2 separate regions of the Homo sapiens genome follow, and region 2 is linked to region 1. The links are contacts of gene promoters, found by promoter capture Hi-C in blood cells and fetal thymus (Javierre and others, 2016). All regions are on one chromosome and are shown on one strand. The core of a region is centred on a gene start or on the middle of the fragment in contact, and the rest is flanking DNA. Distances in the headings are between cores, read along the strand shown. Region 1 holds the start of IL6ST (interleukin 6 cytokine family signal transducer). Region 2 overlaps ANKRD55 (ankyrin repeat domain 55).

Region 1 (6,317 bases), core at 1,328-3,827:
TCTATGTATGACCTTTAGATCTACCACTTAGCTGGGCAAATTAATTAACCTTCTTGTGCCTGGGTTTCCCTATGTGTAAAAAGAGGATTTTATCCTATTATTATTAGACCTACTTCATAATATTATGAAGATTAAATGCCTTAATATGGGCAAAGTGCTCAAAACAGCAACTGGCACAACATAAGCACTAAATATATTGCCTGTTTTAATTAATAGACCTTAGTTACTGCTGATCCTTTCCACAAGCTAGTCCTATATTATGTTCTATATTCTCCATTCTACATTTTGTCCTCCATTCGCTATTATTAATGGGCTGTCTTCATTTTTCCCTTTATCCAAATCCTACCCAGGTTTCAAGGCCAACTTCTGGTAAATCCTTTGCTCATTCCAATCCTTAAATGCTCACTCCAATCCTTAAACGATCATTCCCTAATTTTAATATCTACAGGATTTTCTGCATCACTCTGCATTTAATTAAAACTGCTTTGCATCCTTGTAGTTTTTTTCGTATAAGTTTGTCAATCCAATTATTATAAACTCTTTGAAGGTCCTGATTACATCTCCTGCACCTTTGTGAGTTCGTACAGCAGGTAGTAATTGCTTAGTATTTGCTGTGTAAAATAATAAAGCACAATAGGAACCTCAACTCTGATCATTCTGCCTTTGCAATCAAAGAAACGGAGAAGCTGTGAGAACATTCCATGCTTCTCTAGGAGCCAAGCTGCAAATGTATTAGGGCCAGAGAATTCTGACTCCCATTAAAATGAGCAGCTCTGAAAGGAGGGAGCGGGGAATCCCTCCCTGCCACTGTAGAGGATTTATGGGTTGCCCTTAAGTTCCCAAACCAAATTGTGGCACTGGGGTTTTTATGAGAAACGTGTCAACATGACAAAATGATTCAGAGCACAGGATTTGGAGTCACACAGATCTAGTTTTCAGCGAGACTCCTGTTTCCTTCTCTATAAAGGGGACATTTTAACACCTACTTCACATGTATTTAACTTTCGCCCTAACACTGAACTGAAGTGCAAAGCCTTGGAAACAAATTTAAATAAATTGAAAATACTGCAATTCACAAATAAGAGTGAGAACAACATTTTTAGTTACGTAAGACTATATTATATTAAATTAGGTGGCAGCAGTATTTATAATAATCTAAATTGCCTGTGAGAAAATTAAACTGGTATTGTCAATACATACTTAAAATAAGAAAAAAATCCCACTACAGTCTGTCCTTTTTGACACTTTCTCCTTCCTGTAATTTTTTTCTTTCACTCAAGATTAAAAACAAACGTTCAAGATTATCCCTAAAGAGAAATAGTTGGAAAGCACAATTTAATAGCAAGTTGGTTCTATAAATGTAATATTTCAGTTCATAGTTCAAAAATACTTCCAAATAGGAATTAACATGAATTTAAGAAATTAACATAATGGCACACAGCTAAACTGATGATCTGAGTCCGTAATTTCAAATTAAGAGTTGTTCCAACTTGAAGCTGGCAGTCATACACAGTTTAAAGGGTTTGTTTACAGCACTGTCAAAAGCAAATACCACAATCTTTCAGAAAATTCACCCTGGCATTCTAATAACTAGTTATTTTAAGGCAGTATAATTGTTGAAATACTTCACAAACTAAGCCAAAATGCGTTTCCTTCTGAAGGCAAAAAAAAAAAAAAAAAAAAAAGGTGACGTCTTATTTTTAACCTGTGATTTTTTTTTTTTTTCAGTTTCGGATTATGAAATAAAATGCTGTTCATCCACTGAAGAACAGACCCTTGCTTCCTGCACTATCTTCAAAAGTTTAGGTCGGAGGAGGTAAAATTTTAAAAACTGATTTGTTCTCCTTGGGATACAGTGAGATGTGGAATTCGTTAGGAATGATAATTATTAATAGAAAAGATCAAAAGAAGGAAAGAAACGTTAATAGTGTTTATAAGCATTGTGAACTTTCAACAAAGCTGAAACGTTACGATTTCAAGATGAAAAAACGGCTTTGGGGAAGGGAAATCCACCTCGAGAATGAAGACAAGTGCGGAGCGAATAGAATTTCAGGGGAGATGAAAAGGGGATTGGGAAAAACGTGGGATCTGGTAACAAAAAGGGGGGTTTGTTCTTGAAGGGCGTTCTGCGGGGCGGGCGTTAAGAGGGGTGCGTGCGTGCGCCTGGGTGAAGTTTGTACTCAGGGCTGCGATAATCGAGGTGACAAAGTTGTGGAAGTAGAATTCGGAGGTCCGGGAGCAGGAAGGGGAAGGAATGTGGGGATTTCCAGGCTGGGCTGACAAGTTCCGGGCGCTGCTCTCAGGGGGAAGGGAGGTCTCCTCGAGTGCCAGATAGCCCGTCCGAAACCACCGACACTCTAACTCCAGCTACGCGACCCAGCACCCGGCCCCTCCTCACCTCAGGCCGCGCCGCCTCGACCCTCCGCGTCTCCACAGCGCACGAACCCCTTGGCGCCAGGCTGGGCCAGACCCGTCGGCCTGGCAGGCGCGGCCCCCGGTTCAGCTGCGCCGGGGCGGCCCAGCGCGACTCCGCGGGCCTTTTGGCTGCTCGCCCCGGCTCCGGAACACTGTCAGATCCTTCTCCGCAGAGGTAGCGCGCCACCCCAGTCCCGCGGCGGGGCGGGGCGCTCCCCAATCCCGCCCAGCTGCGCCCCCGGCCGGCCAACGCTGCGCCCCGCCCCCTACCGGGACCTAGGCGCTGATTGGCCCCTGAGAGACCCTTTGCGCCCAGGCATTGGTCCAGTGGCCGCCTGTCGACGAGGGGGCGGGACTCCGAGGGGTAGCGATTCCCGTAACGCGGCTCTTCGCGTCCCGGATTCCGGTGGCTGCGTCCGCGTCGCCTCTCCCAGACTAGATCGAAGGGTTCCCCCCACCTCCCCTCTGTGGGCGGAAAGAGCGGAATGTTCCATTTTTCTGTGGAATAACGGGGTCATGAACTGGAGCCCGGGTGCTGCCCGCCGCCCGCTGCCCCCGCCCTCCCTTCTCGCCAGGGCGCCTGCGGCCTCTCTTCGCGGCCTTCCCCGAGGGACTCAGAGCCGCGAGGGACCGCCTAGCTCCCTTGGGGATGGGGAAGGCGTGGGAGCCTCTTGGGGAAAGTGAAGAGCTCGGTGGCCGTGACTCCGCACGAGACTGCGGCAGATTGTGGCGGCGGCTTCTCTCCAAGACTTACGTAAACGAGCCTTGCCACAGTACTTTTTTAAATTAGTAAATGAGTTTGGGTGCGATTGATCAGTGAGCCCCAGAGGTGGTGGCCCACCAAGCGACTAGTGTTTCTTTGCGGTTTGTACCTCCCCGTTTATGATAAAAAATACCGGGTAAAAACCTATTCATCCCGCCTCCGCCCCCCCCTTTCCCTCAGAAAATGGACCTCAAGGCTCATGATGTTTGTTTCTCCCCAAAGGAAGATGAGAATCTTGAGTTAAAAGATAAGGCATGTGCGTGCGTGCGTGTGGGGTGTGTGCGTGGGTGTCTGTAAAAGTAAACACCCAAAGGTAGAGGTTTTTGTGGAAGAATGAGAGGATATAGGAAGGAAATAATGGTTTAATGAACTTAAATTATATCCATAAATTAACAATTATAAAGTTCTTCATTATATTGAGGATTCAGATAGAGTAAAACATAGATCGAATTTTAATCTCTTAGTTGTTGATCAGATAATTTATAAAAGGGCAAAGTGGGCCTGCTAACGGAGTCGCAGGCAAAGTAGATGGTGCTGCAGCTGATGTGTTCAGCTCTTGCTCCTCCCTGTCATCCTATATCTAACCTATAGATTGTGACCAGATTCTGTTCTAGCTTTGCCATTTAGAGGGGTGTTTATTTTAAAACAAATTTTTATAAAAATTTGTTAAATTGAAAATTTTGTATAGATCCAGGAAACTTGATTTTTTTGTTGTTGTTCACAGTCTCACTCTGTCACCCAGGCTGGAGTGCAGTGGCTGGATCATGCTCACCGCACGTTCAAATTCCTGGGCTCTAGCGATCCTCCCACCTCAACCTCCCAAGTATCTCAGACTACAGGTGCCCCTACAATACCTGGCCAATTTTTAAAATTTTTGGAGAGACAAGATTTTGGTATGCTGACCCGGCTGGTCTTGAACTGCTGGCAACAAACGATCCTCCGGCCTTAGTGGCCTCCCAAAGTGCTGAGATAACAGGTGTGATGCAAAGATGTATTTAGGGGAGATGTATAGTGGTTAAATGTACCCTCTGGTTCTAGATTGCCTAGGTTTAAATGCTGATGCCTCTATTTCTCATCTCTGTGACCTTGGGCAAGTCTTTTCAAATTTCTTCATCTGCAAAATGAGAATAACAATACCAACCTAACAGGATTGTTGCAAGGATTAAATGAGTTAAAATACATACAGTGTTTGGCACATAGTAGGTGCTCTGTAAGTATCAGCTATAATCATTATTGAATGTCTACTCGGTCAACACTTCTGAAATATTTTAGTATCACAACATATATTAAAAATGATGATATTTTGCTGGACGGGGAAGGGCAGGTACACAGAAGTGGATTGATATGTCACAACACACCAGCCTGCCTTGGCACCATTAGGAAAACAAATGACTGAGTTAGTGCTTTTATGGGTGTCTTTTTATTGGCTCAGCTCAGGTCCTGCTCCCAAGAAACTCACATTTTATGGGAGTAGTTAAAGTCTGAGGCCAAAAGGATGAATCAATATTGGAGAAGTATTTTTCAGAGCAACAGGACGGAAGACCTCTGCTGTGCTGGAATTACATGACTTTGCAGATACCTCTGTAGAGTATTGGCCTTGAAATTACGAATTTCAGATTAAGGATTTGTTACTAGAAAGCCTTGTCAAAATGCAAAGGTAAGTAGGGGAAAGTAGTATATTAATGGAGAACTCTCCATTTGTGTCCTGTGACCATTTGAGATTTTAGATATGTCAAGAGCAGGCCGGGTGCAGTGGCTCACACCTGTAATCCCAGCATTTTGGGAGGCTGAGGCAGGCGGATCACTTGAGGCCAGGAATTCAAGACCAGCCTGGTGAAACCCCAACTCTATTAAAAATACAAAGATTAGCCAGGCATGGTGGTGGGTGCCTGTAATCCCAGTTACTTGGGAGGCTGAGGCACGAGAATCACTTGAACCCAGGAGGCAGAGGTTGCAGTGAGCTGAGATCCTGCCACTGCACTCCAGCCTGGGTGACAGAGCAAAACTCCTTCTCAAAAAAAAAAAAAAAAAAAAAAAGAGATTGAGGAAACTGTACAGTGAGAAAGTAACATGAAGGCACCAAAATTACAATTACTTGGGAGTAAGTGAGCAAAGCTTAGGAAATTGTGCCATGGAACAAAGGTGATAAATGTCAAAGACAAACTTTGCCTGCATTTCTAATTCCCTAAATCTGGTGCTGACTAGGATATCCCTTTACTTCCTTGTCTGTGCCCAGTTATGTTTCTGAAATTCTGTGTCAGCCCTGGAATTATCCTCATGTTCTGTATCACCTTAATGATTTCAGCATCCATGTTCATGACTCATTAGCACTCTGACCTCACAATTTCTCATCGTTTTCTTTTCCAATCATCTTCAACTTCACTCTGTATCAGCAACCCACAGATGGAGCCACACCTTCAACCTAGTCATCAATGAAATTACTTCCCCTCCAAAATGCTGGATTGTGAGTTTCCCTCTCTGTACCTACAGCCACCTACCCCCATCTATCTCTATTCTGTGGTCATTCCCATTGAATCTGTAATTTGTCCTCAATGTGACAGCCTGACAGCCAGTCTTTCTTCTCATAGTTTATCAGCTGTTTCCTATCATTTTTTATCTTACTTACCAGTAAGAACCCCCTTTTTTTTTTTGAGACGGAGTTTTGCTGTTGTTGTCCAGGCTGGGGTGCAATGGCACGATCTTGGCTCACCGCAACCTCCGCCTCCCTGGTTCAAGTGATTCTCCTGCCTCAGCCTCCCAAGTAGCTGAGATTACAGGTGCTCACCACCATGCCTGGCTAATTTTTTGTACTTTTAGTACAGACGGGGTTTCACCAAGTTGGCCAGGCTGATCTCAACTCCTAAAAGTGATGGGATTACAGGGGTGAGCCACCGCCCCCCAAGAACCCTTTTATCAACCATTTTAACTGCACTATTCTCTTCAGTTCCCTTGACCTTCAGCTATGTTTACCTTATCAGGCTATTTCCTAACTATTTCCTTTTTCCTTGAGCTATCAGCCCCACCGTAACATTTATTCTTAGTACAGAACCTTGTTTTACTCCCTTAAAATCAAGACCATCATTTGTGAGCATCCTTGACTTTTCTCCAACTTAGGAAGCAAATAGATATTTATCCTCTT
Region 2 (6,200 bases), core at 1,434-3,933, 190 kb after region 1:
CTTCCCAGAAGCAGAAATCCTTGCTCTTTGCCTTTTACAGTTACATTTTCTCAACATCCATTGCTACCAAAAGTAGCCTGCTCTTTCCGTACCTTTTCCTAACTACTTGACCTATCTATTTTGGTCATTCATACAAAGATATTGAAAACAAACTCAAACTGATGACTTCATTATAAGAGGCGATGTGGTACCTGCACATAGGCACAGTATCAAAATGGCTGGTCAGATATACATTTATTAACATTGCTCATGTCTGAAGGCCATCTCTAAAAAAATAGAGCAGAACATTCTGGATTCAAAATGCATACATATCTCACCTTCACTGTCACAGCATTCTAGGATAGAAGGGTCTTCCCGAATCACTGCAGTCAGAGCATTGACATCTCCATTAGAGGCTGCTTGATAAACCATGGTCAGGTCAACTTCCTCAGATGAGTCACCTTCATGCATAAAACAGACACAATGTTAGTGTGTGGAGCCAGTTCACTGAAAGAATAACAATACCCAAGTCGTCACCCACACAAGTGATTCATTAAAACTTCTCAAGTGAATCCAGGCAGAAGTCTGGGTCATCCTGGCTACACACTCCCTCACCACTTCTGAAGAAAGGTGGATCACTCATGCCATTTGTAACACCGCCGTGTATTGGAAAGGAACCTGAGGGATTGGATGTCATTTGAGATTTTCTGATTATTTCCAGGCATTCAGGCTTCTCGAAGCCAGGGAGCCCAGAGAGGAAAGTGGGAAGTGGGGCCCTCATCTTGGTTCTGCATTGCCCTTTTTGATCTGGAACATGTTCCTTGTCCTCCCAATAACTCAGTTTACTACCTTTCAAAGAGACATTGTGCTCTCCATTCTCCGTTCTCCAGATGTGGAGGGTGAGGCAGCCTTTCCCACCCTATTCTGTACCCTGAGGACTGACCCTTGCCGAGTGCTCCACCCAGGCTCCCTCACCCTTTTGCTTGCCCATGAGAGGCACGGGCAGGAGCCTGATGGGGAGAAGAGAGAGATGGGACATTTCTTCCTGCCTTCCCCTAGTGCCGTGTTCGGCAGGAGCCACTTCTCTCCCAACAGGAGGCTCTTTCTTGGCAGAGCCAGTCTCTTCCTCTGCAGAGTCAGTCTCTCTGGGTTCCCTGATAAAATGGTCCCCTCCCATCCTTCTTAGCTGTAAGGATGGGATTGGCTTCCCACTGATGTTAGTCTGTGGAGCTTCAGCATCCCTAGTTCATTCTTTCAGCCCTGCGTCATCTCTGCAAGCTGTCCCTTCATGAAAGTCTCTTCATTTCAACCACCTGAGATTTCATGAGAGGGCATTCCCAGAAGAAACAGAACTGTAGGCAACTCCTTTGAATTTGGTAGCCACCTGCATTATGCCTTGTGCATGCCTGAACCAACTAATAGCATGGTCAAAGGCAACATCAGGCCAGGCATGATGGCTCAGATCTGTAATCTCAGCACTTTGGGAGGCTGAGGTGGGAGGATGGCTTGAGCCCAGGAGTTCGAGATCAGCCTGGGCAACACAGTGAGACCCTCTCTCTACAAAAAATTTAAAAATTAGCTGGGCATTGTGGTGGGTACCTGTAGTCCCAGGTACTCAGGAGGCCGAGGCAGGAGGATTGCTTGAGCCCCAGAGTTCAAGCAGTGAGCTATGATTGTGCCACTATACTCCAGCCTGGACAACAGAGTGAGACCTTGTCTTAAAAAAAAAAAAAGAAAGGCGACAACAGAACTATGGGTCAAGTGGGGCTGGGTGCAGTGGCTCATGCCTGTAATCCCAGCACTGTGCGAGGCCGAGGCGGGCGGATCACTTGAGGTCAGGAGTTCAAGACCAGCCTGGCCAATGTGGAGAAACCCAGTCTCTACTAAAAATACAAAAAAATAAGCCAGGTGTGGTGGCATGTGCCTGTAATCCCAGCTACTTGGGAGGCTGAGGCAGGATAATTGCTTGAACCCGGGAGGCAGAGGGTGCAGTGAGCCGAGATTGCACCACTGCACTCTAGCCTGGGCGACAGAGCGAGACTCTGTCTCAAAACAAAACAACAACAACAAAAGAACTGTGGGTCAAGTGGAGAACGGGGAGGACTGGGAGGTGAGTTCTGCTCAAGAGGAGGCCTCCAGGGAGAGGCTGTGTTGATCAACTCACACCGTTCCTCCCATGCACGCCTCCTCTGCCCCTCAAGCATAGCCACTGTTCAGGTGTGGTGGCTCACGCCTGTAATCGCAGCACTTTGGGAGGCTGAGGTGGGTGGATCACCTGAGGTCAGGAGTTTGAGACCAGCCTAACCAACATGGAGAAACTCCGTCTCTACTAAAAATACAAAAAATTAGCTGGGCCTGGTGGTGCATGCCTGTAATTCCAGCTACTCGGGAGGCTGGGGCAGGAGAATTGCTTGAACCCGGGAGGTGGAGGTTGCGGTGAGCCCAGATGGCGCCATTGCACTCCAGCCTGGGCAACAAGAGTGAAACTCCATCTCAAAAAAAAAAAAAGTAAAAAAAGAGAAAAAGGTTTTTTTAAGTTGTGTTTTTCTGCTAATGTGGATATTATGTCAAAGATACTTTTTAGTTTTCAGTTCGAATTGATCTTTCGTTGGCAGTGGTCCTAACCCTTTGCCTCGGTTTCTCTGTCCCAGTATTTTTGGGAAGTCATAAGTGCCGGTTGACCTGTCTGTCCCCAAAGGAACTTGTTATTGGAAATGATTCACTTATGACAACAAACTGTTTTGTAAAGTGAGTAGTTGTTCCCTAACTTACTCACAGTAGTATTTTGTTGTTTTCGTTTGTTTGTTTTAGTCAGACTCACTTGCACATTTGCCTGGGGGCCAGAAGTGAAAGAGGAGGGGTGTCCAGGTCAAATGCCACTCCTGTGATGAGCGCAAGGACTATGGAGGCAGACAACCTCAGTATCAGCTTGCACTGACCAGCTGTGTGGATTTGGACCGTCCCCTCTCCAGGCCTTAGTTTCCTTGTTTTTGTTTGTTTGTTTGTTTATTTGAGACAGGGTCTCGTTGGGTCACCCATGCTGGAGTGCAGTGGCGTGATCTTGGCTCACTGCAGCCTTGACCTCCCAGGCCCAAGTGATCCACCCATCTCAGCCTCCTGAGTAGCTGGGACTACAGACATGCACCACCACGCCCAGCTAATTTTTGTATTTTTTGTAGAGATGGGGTTTTGCCATGTTGCCCAGGCTGGTCTCTAATGATCCTCCCATGTTGGCTTCCCAAAGTGCTGTGATTTATAGGCGTAAGCCACTGTTCCTGGCCAGTTTCTTTGTCTTTAAAATGAAGGTAATAATGATGATAATTAGGATAACTACCTACCTCTCTTATAAGTTTGTTGTGAGGAAAAAAATGAATTAATATTTAATTCTGTGTGCTTTTAGAACAAGGCCTGGCATATAATAGTGTATATATTTGCTGTGACTACTGCTACTTAAAAAATTTTTTTTTGGTGCGTTTAGAAAGCATTAGAAATCTGGGACATGTAGAGAAAATAGTCTCTTGTTGATGATGATTAGACAAAAAGTCCATACATTGCACAGAACATTAGTCCCCATTAGGAACCTTCCTAGGACTCTAGACATTTTGTTAAGATTTCTCACAGTATATTTGGGCACAAGAAATAGGGCCCAGAAACAGGACAAAGATGGAGCTGGTATCTGGTTGTGTGACCACATCCAAAGATGCTGGTGGTATCACTTCAGGAGGAAGATCCTGGTGGTGGGCTGAGGAGCTCTGTGTTTAACAGCCTGTTCATATGTTATATAATGTGCCTATATAACAGACATAAATGTATTCACAATCCGTTCATCACTGAGTGCAATAAAATATGCAAGGCACATTCATCACACTGTGGACCACATACAGCTGAGAGAAACAATGAATGCATTGCCTGATAGAATTATGATCCCCAAAATATCTTGCCAGAAATCTAATTAGATAGTATTTAATAGAGCTAAAGGTAGAGTAACATATTGAAAGACAGGACCAGCTGGATGTCCTAGGCTGACTAAGAATCCCTAAGCCTAGCTGGGAAGGTGACTGCATCCACCTTTAAACACAGGGCTTGCAACTTAGCTCACACCCGACCAATCAGGTAGTAAAGAGAGCTCACTAAAACGCTCATTAGGCAAAAACAGGAGGTAAAGAAATAGCCAATCATCTATTGTCTGAGAGCACAGCGGGAGGGACAATGACCGGGATTTAAACCCAGGCATTCGAGCTGGCAACGGCTACCCTCTCTGGGTCACCTCCCTTTGTATGGGAGCTCTGTTTTCACTCTATTAAATCTTGCAACTGCACACTCTTCTGGTCCGTGTTTGTTACGGCTTGAGCTGAGCTTTCGCTCACTGTCCACCACTGCTGTTTGCTGCTGTCGCAGACCCGCCGCTGACTTCTATCCCTCTGGATCCAGCAGGGTGACCGCTGTGCTCCTGATCCAGCGAGGCACCCATTGCTGCTCCCAATCGGGCTAAAGGCTTGCCATTGTTCCTGCACGGCTAACTGCCTGGGTTCATCCTAATCGAGCTGAACGCTAGTCACTGGGTTCTAGGTTCTCTTCCGTGACCCACGGCTTCTAATAGAGCTATAACACTCACTGCATGGCCCAAGATTCCATTTCTTGGAATACGTGAGGCCAAGAACCCCAGGTCAGATAACACGAGGCTGGCTACCATCTTGGAAGCCCCCCGCCACCATCTTCGGAGCTCTAAGAACAAGGACCCCCGGTAACAATATCTTGGTCCACAAAATATCCAGTTGAACTGATTGAAGGGTGGTTAAGTATGTAGTTTTTGCACTCAACTTCCCCTCTCCCTGTTGATAAGGTAAACCTGATTATTCTCTAGGGACTACTTCCTCTCCTCTTCTAGCCCACAGGCTGATTCAGTGGAATTGGCTATATCCCTGGTCAGGGGCAGAACATGTGGCTTAGAACTAAGCCACTCAGCACTAGCATTATCCTGGCCATGGAGATGGATTCAGGGATGTGACCCAATTAGAGCCCACGAAAAGCAATGATACGTTTGATATGTTGACTGGGGTTGTCGAGAACAATACTGTTGCTTTATTCTACCACCCATGAACCTGGAAGCCACCTGGTGACATCTTTCTCTTACCAGAGAAAGGTGGAGATATTTTCTCTGCCCTGCCCCCGCAACCCCGCCACCCCCCTACAACCAAAAAAAAAGAAAAAGAAAAAAGAAATCTTAGCCTAGGTCAATCTCCCGAAGCATTTCCCCAATGTTTTCTGGTAGTTTCATGTCTTACATTTAAATCTTTAATCCATTTTGATTTGACTTTTGTATATGGTGAGAGATAGGGGTCTAGTTTTATTCTTCTGCATATAGATATCCAGTCTTCCAGCACCTTTTATTGACGAGACTGTCCTTTCCCAAATGTATGTCTTGGTGCCTTTGTTAAAAATGAGTTGACTGTAAATGTGTGAACTTGTTTCTGGAATCTCAATTCTGTTCCATTGGTCTACGTGGCTGTTTTTATGCCAGTATCATGCTATTTTGGTTACTATAGCCTTGTAGTATAATTTGAAGTCAAGTAATGTGATGCCTCCAGCTTAAGTCAATTTACATAGATTTTGTGTATTCGTTTGGATTTTCTTTTTAATCACTGAAAAAGTTCTGACTGATAAAACGTTTTAAAAAAGAACTTGGAGTTTTAGCTGGAAAATTAGCTCTATAGAAATAAACAGCGTTGTAATAAATTAGTAGGAAGTCTGGCTGAATTACCAAATCTAGTAGCCATATTGAGGGCAGTGATAGGCCTTTTCCATTCTTAACTGGTCAGTGTCATATTGAGGTCTATGGTCTCAATTAAACAGGGGTATAGTGGCTGGAGAACATTCAGAGGTGAGTGACTGGAGGTATGAATGGACTTTAATCATGTCACGTGAAGAATGGTTGAAGGAGATAAATGTGTCTACTCTGAAGATTATTCCAGGGGTCATGATAGTAGCCTTCAGATAGTTAAAGAGTTTTTTTAATTAAAAAAATTGTGCAGGAGGCTGAGGCAGGAGAATGGTGTGAATCCGGGAGGCGGAGCTTGCAGTGAGCCAACATCGCGCCACTGCACTCCAGCCTGGGCAACAGAGCGAGACTCTGTCTCAAAAAAAAAAAAAAAAAATGTGGTAAAAGATACATAAAATTTAAAATTTTAACCATTTAAGTGTACTTACAGTTCAATTGCATT

Evidence for each region. Contacts are between HindIII fragments. The CHiCAGO score rates a contact against its expected background, and 5 or more counts as called.
Region 2: a contact is called between a fragment that was not itself captured here and the fragment with the promoter of IL6ST in region 1, in 7 of 17 cell types (activated CD4 T cells, total CD4 T cells, naive CD4 T cells and 4 more). The highest score is 8.2, in activated CD4 T cells.

What each region holds. Positions count from the first base shown.
Region 1 is chr5:55,992,386-55,998,702 of GRCh38, forward strand. It overlaps IL6ST (interleukin 6 cytokine family signal transducer), which reads right to left and starts at 2,578. Exons shown (of 17, transcript NM_002184.4): 1 at 2,399-2,578. It overlaps IL6ST-DT (IL6ST divergent transcript), which reads left to right and starts at 2,782. Exons shown (of 2, transcript NR_102755.1): 1 at 2,782-3,169. RefSeq lists cis regulatory regions at 1,346-3,664, 2,358-3,031, a silencer at 2,309-2,788 and an enhancer at 2,620-3,131. The HindIII fragment of the contact is 8,053 bases long and covers 1-5,291 here.
Region 2 is chr5:56,183,195-56,189,394 of GRCh38, forward strand. It overlaps ANKRD55 (ankyrin repeat domain 55), which reads right to left. Exons shown (of 12, transcript NM_024669.3): 3 at 318-440. Among named protein-coding and RNA genes, the nearest start is that of ANKRD55, 47 kb to the right of the region's middle. The HindIII fragment of the contact is 8,871 bases long and covers 1-6,200 here.